Regions from separate parts of the Homo sapiens genome. Here all the other regions are linked to region 3. Evidence: promoter capture Hi-C in 16 types of primary human blood cells and fetal thymus (Javierre and others, 2016). All regions are on one chromosome and are shown on one strand. Each heading gives the region's core, a stretch centred on a gene start or on the middle of the fragment in contact. The rest is flanking DNA. Distances are from core to core; before and after follow the strand shown. Region 1 overlaps CACNG5 (calcium voltage-gated channel auxiliary subunit gamma 5). Region 2 has its middle 100 kb from the start of RGS9. Region 3 holds the start of APOH (apolipoprotein H).

Region 1 (2,862 bases), core at 249-2,748, 640 kb before region 3:
TAACATGGAGGAAGAGACTAATAATAAACACCAAAGTACATTGAACGTTTATCATTGTTAGGCATCCTGTTAAGCACCTTACTCCCCATTTTAATCCTGGCTATTCTATTACCACACCCATTTTACAGGTGAGCAAACTGATGATCAGTGAGGTTAAGAAGCTTGCACAAGAGCACTCAGCTGGCAAATGTTGGTGCCTGCATTTGAACCTTACCTTGCCCCACTCCCAAGCCCTTTTTCAAGGCTTGCGTTCTCAAACTCCCACCCCATGAGTTTATCCAAAGTGGGGTCCATGGAGCAATAATTCCATGGAATATTCTAGAAAAAGTGACTCTGGTTAAAAGGAAAAAAAAAAAAAAAACAGCTTGTGAGAAGCACTGCACCTAGCTCTTGAAGAACCGCATTGCACATTATGGTAAAGGCTTTGAAAAGCCTGCTTAGCTTTGCTTATTTCTGTATTTTCCAAACTTATTTGAGCAAAGAAAAAAAAAAGACATCATGTTCTGTGAAACCCACTTTGGGAACCACACTGCCTGCCAGGAAGAATAGGAAGACCTGCCTTGCTCACTCCACAAAATTGCTGGTGTGATTAAACACGACAGCAGATATGACTATGCTTTGAAAAAAGTCTAAAGCATGATCCTGGTATAAGGTATTGTTATTAAGCAACAGTGGACTAAGCCCCTGAGTCTTGCAGAGAGAATGGATCAGAGCTTCTGAAGCACGACTGCTGTTGCCTGGTCGAAGCTGAGCAGCCAATCTTAATGTTAAGCTTGGCAGGGAGATGAAAAAGATTCATGTTTGGAGATTTGGAAAGATGAAAGTGGAGAGGAGATTGGATCTTAATCTACAAAAGCGAGAAATAAAAGAGGCTGAAAGTGACCTTGCCTGCCAAACTCTACAATAGCAGATCCTAAAGCCTGGAATATACCTAGGAAAACCAAAAAGTTTCATCTATTTCCAGAGTATGTAATACATTTATGGAATGCTACCTGGGGTGGAAAATAGCAATCTTATTCATTACAAAATTATATCTATGCTTCTATTATGTAATCCTATTTATTTATAAATAAATCATATTATTGACTGAGTAGGTTTAGCTCCCAGGCACTGTGCAAAATCCTTCAGGTACAGGGTTTCATCAGGACCTCACGATAACCCTGTGAGTAGGTGGGATCAGCCCCACTTTGTGGATGGAGAAACTCAGGGTTAGAGATGTGGAGTAGCCTACAGGAAAGCACAGGTGAGCCGTAGGCTGGCTTTAAACCCAGGTCTAACTCCAAAGTCTATGCTTGGACTACATCATCTCGCTACTGAAGAAATATGGGCTCAAAGAGTGTTGGGAAGAAGGAAAATAATCCAAAGTAGGTCACTCAGGCTATCTAGAAATGTACGAGACACAGTATTCAGAAATGTTTCTTTAGAAGTGGCCAAGTGTCACATAAAGGCTTCTCGTTTGATACTATAGGGCATATTGTTGGGAGTCATCCAGTCATATCTTCTGGTAGCTTCTTGGAGGTGCACTCTGACCCAGGATTTCTACTTCTGAAACCCACCTAGTGGGGTGGCAGGACTAATACTTTCCTCAAAGCACACACAGGAAATCAAGATCCAGAGGGGAGAAGTGCCTGGGATAACCCAAACAGTTACTTGAAAAGATAAAAGTGTGCACCAGCAATAGTTTAGATCCTGACCCAGTGCTTTTTCCTTCTGTATTGCGCAGAAAATTATATAACACAGAAAATGAAAATTACCTGCACTTTCCCACTCTTAGAACACCATCATCATTAATATCTTAGTTCATTGCCTTTTAGTCTTTTTTTCTACGTAGTTGTGCATGTGTGTACATATTCTCTCACCCAGTGTCTTCAGTAGGGACAGGAAGGCCCTTGAAGACACCCTAGTCTGAACTGTATTCCTAGACCCTTGTTCGAGCTTCTGCTTTTACATGGTTCCTTCTCTATCCCATGAATCTCATGTTCATTTGATTTTTCTTATAGGAGAGGAGCCATTTTTTATAAGTTGCTATCACAAGATAAAATGTTTACACTATAATAGTAAATTAATGAAGTTGAATGCAACATCACACTTTTAACTTAAACTCAACCGTATACAAAATTCACAGACTGGAAAGAAATAACCCAAAATGTTGATGATGGCTGCTTCCAGGTAATTAGGTTATGCATGGTTTTTAAAATACTTCTCTGTGCTCAACAAAGCTTCTCAAAGAACATGTATTGTTTCCAGAATCAGAGAAGAAAACTAAATTAAAGATTAGAGTGATCTATTCTCCAATCACTCTCCTTGTATACAAAAGTGCAGGGCTCCAGCTAAACTCCTGGGCTGGAGATGGCAACATGTAGTGTCATCTTTTGAGGGCTGGGTTCCAGAAGCAGGCAGCCTTCTTGAGTTTTTTGTTTGTTTGTTTGTTTCTTTTTGAGATGGAGTCTCGCTCTGTCACCCAGGCTGGAATGCCGTGGTGCGATCTTGGCTCACTGCAAGCTCCGCCTCCCAGGTGCACGCCATTCTCCTGCCTCAGCCTCCTGAGTAGCTGGGACTACAGGTGCCTGCCACCACGCCCGGCTAATTTTTTTGTATTTTTAGTAGAAACAGGAGCTTTTTAAGATGATTACCCAGGCGCCATTACCTCTAAGTATTAGCTTGTTAATTATCAGGAATTAACAGTCGCTAATTATCATCCATGACTAGCAATTAGGGAGAAATGTCTTGTGGAGATTAAATCATTAATGGCACATTCCCCTGCTCAAGCCAATAATAAAAGGACTTGCAATGAAGTGCTTAGGTGCCCAGAGGTAGGTGAGGTTAGAGGAGCAAGTGAGAGCCCAGTTATCAATTGCTGGG
Region 2 (2,824 bases), core at 275-2,774, 990 kb after region 3:
ATACACCAGAGGACAGGCAGGGAGGCTCATGCCCTGCAGTCTCTCTGGTCATCCTTATCATCTCTGTCCTCCCAGGGTTAGGAGTTTGCAGGAGGACCAGAGCCCCTAACATTCTTGGCCTCCAGAAGAATGTGGTGCTCAGCCCCACGTGGTCTCACTGCTGCAGTAAATGCTAGCACCAACAATGTGAAAGTGTTCCTAACAGTTCCAGCTAGGATGTAAGGGCATGATTATCCTCATACATGCATTATTGGTAGCAATCTAAATTAGTACAGACTTTAAAAAGGTGATTTGGTGGCCAGGCATGGTGGCTCATGCCTGTAATCCCAGCACTTTGAGAGGCCAAGGTGGGAGGATTGCTTGAGCCCAGGAGTTTGAGACCATCCTGGCCAACATAGGGAGACCCCTGTCTCTACAAACAAATATAATAAAATAAATTTTTTAAAAAGACTATTTGGCATGGAAGATTGGTCTTAAAATATGCATACTCTAACCCAGCGATTCCTCTTTTTAGTTTCTTTTCTTTTCCTTTTTTTTTTTTTTTTTTTTTGAGACAAGCTCTCACTCTGTCATTCAGGCTGGAACTGGAGCACAATGGTGCAATCAAAGCTTACTGCAGCCTCGACCTCCCAGGCTCAAGCAATCCTCCCACCTCAGCCTGCCAAGTAGCTGGGGCTATAGGCATGCACCACCACACAGCTAATTTTTGAAAAATTTTGTGTAGAGACAGGGTCCCCTATGTTGCCCAAGCTTATCTTCAACTCCTGGGCTCAAGCAATCCTCCCACTTTGGCCTCCCAAAGTGCTGGGATTACAGGCATAAGCCACCATACCTGGCCTTTGGTTTCCATCCCAGGGAGATACTTATAGATGCGCACAGAGGAATGTACAAGGATGTTCATTACAACAGCATTTGTTTTGATGAAAAGTTGGAAACAATGTTCATCTGTAGGAGAATAATCGAACTATGATACAAGCCTACCTTATGAATTCCCCAGAGCTGCTGTAACAAAGGACCGCAAACAAGGTGGCTTAAAACAACGGAAATTAATTCTCTATTAGTTCTGGAGGCTACAAGTCCAAAGTCAAGGTTTTGGCAGGGCTGTGCTCCCTCTGAGGCTAGGGGAGGGTCCTTTGTTGCCTCTTCCAGCCTCTGATGGCTCCAAGCAATCCCTGGGGTTCCACAGCTTACAGCTGCCTCACTCCAATCTCTGCCTCCATCTTCACATGAACTTCTTACCTTTGTGTGCCTCTGTGTTGTCCTCCCACTACATATGAAGACTCTGGTCATTGGGCTTATGGCCCACCCTAATCCAGCACGACTAGTGTTTCAGTAAAATCACCTTTAGAAATTTTTTTTTTTTGAGATGGAGTCTCACTCTGTTGCCCAGGCTGGAGGGTAATGGCGTGATCTCTGCTCACTGCAACCTCCGCCTCCCAGGTTCAAGCAATTCTCCTGCCTCAGCCTCCTGAGTAGCTGGGATTACAGGCGCACACCACCACACCCGGCTAATTTTTGTATTTTTTAGTAGAAACGGGGTGTCACCATGTTGGTCAGGCTGGTCTTGAACTTGTGATCTCGTGATCCGCCCGCCTCGGCCTCCCAAAGTGCTGGGATTACAGGCGTGAGCCACCATGCCCAGCTAGAAATCTTTTTAAAAAGACAAAATTCCAGGCCACTGACTGCTGTGAAGTCATGGACTTTATCTGTTTTAACAAGAATGCTAGAGATTAAATGGGAGATATAAATGTGAAATAATAAAAGGGCCACTCATTCACAATATTGGCCTCCATTGATAAAGTGATATATCTGGACATTTTCTATATAATCAGGAGATTTTTAACTCAATAACTGACAACTCAACATCTTCAACACCCTAAACCCCAAACTGATAGTGGTGCTGCTTTGGGCTCTGTACATAGACGAGGCTGTGGACATGAGTTGTGCCCCGCAGAAGTTCCCATTGTTGAAATATATTGAGATGAAGGTAATGAGCCATACACACAAAATTCAAGAACCATGACACAGGGACAAAGGCCTACCCAGAAGACTGGCCAGAAGTCCCAAGAGTACTGTGTTACTGCAATCCTTCAAATTCCCTTTGCCTAGAAGCCCAAGAATAGGGAGAAAAGACTAAGGTTTAGCAGAGGGAAGGACCAGGACTGCGCATTCTACAAAAAAAGCAGAGACCTCTGCCATCTAGGTCTTTCTAATGTCTAACTAATCCCATATGCAATGGAAGCCTGCGACTTGGGTCAAGTATGTCAAGTATGTGGATGCTGCTGGATAAAAAGCTTGTTGTGTTCCTGTATTAGTCCATTCTTACACTGCTATAAAGAACTACCCGAGACTGGGTAATTTATAAAGAAAAGAGGTTTAATTGATTCATGGTTCTGCAGGCTGTACCGGAGGCTTCAGGAAACTTACAATCATGGTGGAAAGCAAAGGGAAAGCCAGCACATCTTACATGGTGGGAGCAGGAGAAAGAAAATGAAGCTGGAGGTGCTACACACTTTTAAACAACCAGATGTTGTGAGAGCTCACTCACTATCACAAGAACAGCAAGGGAAAAATCCACCACCATGATCCAATCACCTCCCATCAGGTCCCTCCCCTGACATTGGAAATTACAATCCAACATGAGATTTGGGTGGAGACACAGAGCCAGCCATAACAGTTCCTGAATAGGTGCCCAGATTTCCCTACAGCTTGAAATAGGCACTGCTCTTTCTTTGTCCCTGAACACTGACTCCTAGTCTTCCAAGGACACGATCATCCCAGAAAATACTTTATTTCAGCTCCTTACTGAAGTAGTTGTCTCCTT
Region 3 (3,002 bases), core at 423-2,922:
AACATCATTAAAAACCCTTCTCCTTGTCCTCTCTCAATATCAGGCACTCAGTTTGTAGCTGTTGCTGAAAATATTCTCGTCTCAATTTTAACCTTTTCTCAAATTTTCTTTAACTGATGCCCGACCTCTTTGGTTTCTCTCTCCTTTTCCCCTTCTACTTCAGATCTTACTATACAGAACGACTTGGCTCCTCCTGACTTCATTAGTTTTCTTTCTTCTTCATTCATCAAGGAGATTCTCCACAATAAAGCGGAACCTGGGAATTATCCAGAGAACAAGAATCTCCTTCCCCTTAGAAGGACAAATAGGGAAGGACCACTGTTATTTCACATTAGTGGCAGCACACTCTTCTTATCATGGAACACAATGTTCATTAGGATCGTAATTTAAGAATCATCTGCCTGACAGATGGAGATTTCTCAAGCTGATGTGTCTCAGGGAATTTTAGACCTCTGGATATAAACCAAGATCACCCAAATGAGAGCAAGCGGAGGTTATTTATTCAGAGCTTGCTATAGGAAGGGAGGCAGCCATTAACAGTTGTGTTTGGCAGAGACTCAAAGTCAAAGTCAGACAGAGGAGTGGGAAAGCTTTATAATAGAAAAAAGGAAAGGCTTCAGGTGTGCTCCAACGGATTGTTGGTATGGGGAGGATGGAAGGAAACTAACTAGAAGTGAGGTGTCCATGTGATTGGTTAGAGAAATATGTTTGGATTTCTCTGGTTGGCCTTAAGTTGGGCCAACTGCTATAGAGGTTGTAGGTTTGGCTTTCTAGACCTGTTGCTACAGATGTGTGGGTCAGAGTTCTGTTTTCACATATGGCCTGGCTATTGTCCATTTATATATCCTTTTTTTTTTTTTTAGAGCAAATGATGTAGAAGAGAACTAGGGAATCAAAGACAACCCCCCTTCCGAACCCTCTCAAGCAACAACATCAGCACTGGCCCATTATCTTATCCTACTCAAGTTTTTTTTTCTTCTTCGAGTCCCAAGTTGTTAATTTCAAATCAATTTTCAAATTCCTGAAACAGATCTAGAAACCTGTCTAGACAGATCCAAGACATATTAAGAATGGATGAGGAGGACTTTGTATTGATCTGACGTAAGAGAAGATAGAGAATTCAAGGATAGCTCTAAGGTCCTAACTGGAGCTATAGGAGCTTGCAAGAGAGGATGTTGAGCTCAGTTTGTAGGGAATTAAAGTTGTAAGTGCCTCCTGGAAGACATTCTTTGTAATTATACATCTGAAAACTGGAACATCATTTTAGAGAGGTGGAGACTGAGAACAGAGAGTAGGTGTTTGTCCAAAGTTTATATGCCAAGGCTGTGAGTGAAACAGGAGCTTCGATCTTTTGGTGTTCCATCTACAACATACACAAAACAAAAGATGGAGAATGAGAAGTCCAGGCAACCCCGGAAACAACAAGTTTCTGTCAAAAGCAATAATGAACTGTTTTGTGCCATTAACAAAAACGTTATGAAGACAGAAACCATCTCCCAAAGATTTCATAACAGAGCCACATAAGTGGAAAGTAAATGATTAAAGAATGTGGGTCTCAGAGTTCCATTCAAATCATGATACTTTATCTTCTATTTACAAAGATAAAAGTACACCAGAAAATGGTTAATGTTTAAGCGCTTTCATATTTGGCTCTGTCTTTTTAGCAGACGAAAACCACTTTGGTAGTGCCAGTGTGACTCATCCACAATGATTTCTCCAGTGCTCATCTTGTTCTCGAGTTTTCTCTGCCATGTTGCTATTGCAGGACGGAGTAAGTACTTTTTGCTTTTGAAAAAATAATTAATATATCCAACCCCTTCGTATATGTCAGGGATCAATAATGATAAGTAGGCCGGGCGTGCTTGCTCACATCTGTAATCTCAGCACTTTGGGAGGCCAAGGCAGGTGGATCACCTGAGGTCAGGAGTTCGAGACCAGTCTGGCCAACATGGTGAAACCCCGTCTTTATGAAAAATACAAAAATTAGCTGGGCATCATGGCCGAGGTGGGCGAATCAGTTGAGGTCAGGAATTCGAGCCCAGCCTGGGCAACATAGTGAAACCCTGTCTTTACTAAAAACACAAAAATTAGCCGGGCGTGATGGCAGGCGCCTGTAATCCCAGCCACTCGGGAGGCTGAGGCAGGAGAATTGCTTGAACCTGGGAGGCAGAGGTTGCAGTGAGCCGAGGTCCCCCCATTGCACTCCAGTCTGGGCAACAAGAGCAAAACTCAGTCAACAATAATAATAATAAGAAGAAGAATAATTAAATTCTTTTTTTTTTTTTTTGAGACAGAGTCTCGCTCTGTCGCCAGGCTGAAGTGCAGTGGTGCGATCTCGGCTCACTGCAAGCTCCGCCTCCTGGGTTCACTCCATTCTCCTGCTTCAGCTTCCCGAGTAGCTGGGACCACAGGCGCCCGCCACCACACCCGGCTAATTTTTTGTATTTTTAGTAGAGACGGGGTTTCACCGTGTTAGCCAGGTTGGTCTCTATCTCCTGACCTCGTGATCCACCCGCCTCAGCCTCCCAAAGTGCTGGGATTACAGGTGTGAGCAACTGCGCCCAGCTGATAACTAAATTCTCTTTAGAGTGGATGCTGGAGGGACTGGATTGATACTGATTCTTTAATATTGCCATGTGTAAAGCTCCTCTGTAAGATACGTAGCCAATTTAAGCCTCAGCATACTGACCTGTAAAATGGGGATAATTATAATACCTCCTTCAAATGGTTGTTGAGGGGATTAGATGAGATAGTGTATATGAGGTATTTGGCATGCAACTTGGTATGCTTATAATTGGTAACAGTACACACATTTTTCATTTGTGGGCTTAGCTGAACTTTAAAATGCAAATAGAGATTTGTTAACCATCTGCTTTGTGCCCTCTTTCAGCCTGTCCCAAGCCAGATGATTTACCATTTTCCACAGTGGTCCCGTTAAAAACATTCTATGAGCCAGGAGAAGAGATTACGTATTCCTGCAAGCCGGGCTATGTGTCCCGAGG

Evidence for each region. Contacts are between HindIII fragments. The CHiCAGO score rates a contact against its expected background, and 5 or more counts as called.
Region 1: a contact is called between a fragment that was not itself captured here and the fragment with the promoter of APOH in region 3, in 1 of 17 cell types (M2 macrophages). The highest score is 5.0, in M2 macrophages.
Region 2: a contact is called between a fragment that was not itself captured here and the fragment with the promoter of APOH in region 3, in 1 of 17 cell types (M2 macrophages). The highest score is 5.4, in M2 macrophages.

The regions. Positions count from the first base shown.
Region 1 is chr17:66,871,436-66,874,297 of GRCh38, reverse strand. All of the region lies in intron 1 of CACNG5 (calcium voltage-gated channel auxiliary subunit gamma 5), which reads right to left. Among named protein-coding and RNA genes, the nearest start is that of CACNG5, 38 kb to the right of the region's middle. The HindIII fragment of the contact is 1,447 bases long and covers 775-2,221 here.
Region 2 is chr17:65,240,045-65,242,868 of GRCh38, reverse strand. No RefSeq gene overlaps it. Among named protein-coding and RNA genes, the nearest start is that of RGS9, 100 kb to the right of the region's middle. The HindIII fragment of the contact is 1,544 bases long and covers 753-2,296 here.
Region 3 is chr17:66,228,085-66,231,086 of GRCh38, reverse strand. APOH (apolipoprotein H) reads left to right here and starts at 1,672. Exons shown (of 8, transcript NM_000042.3): 1 at 1,672-1,771; 2 at 2,891-3,002. The coding sequence starts at 1,708. The HindIII fragment of the contact is 12,618 bases long and covers 593-3,002 here.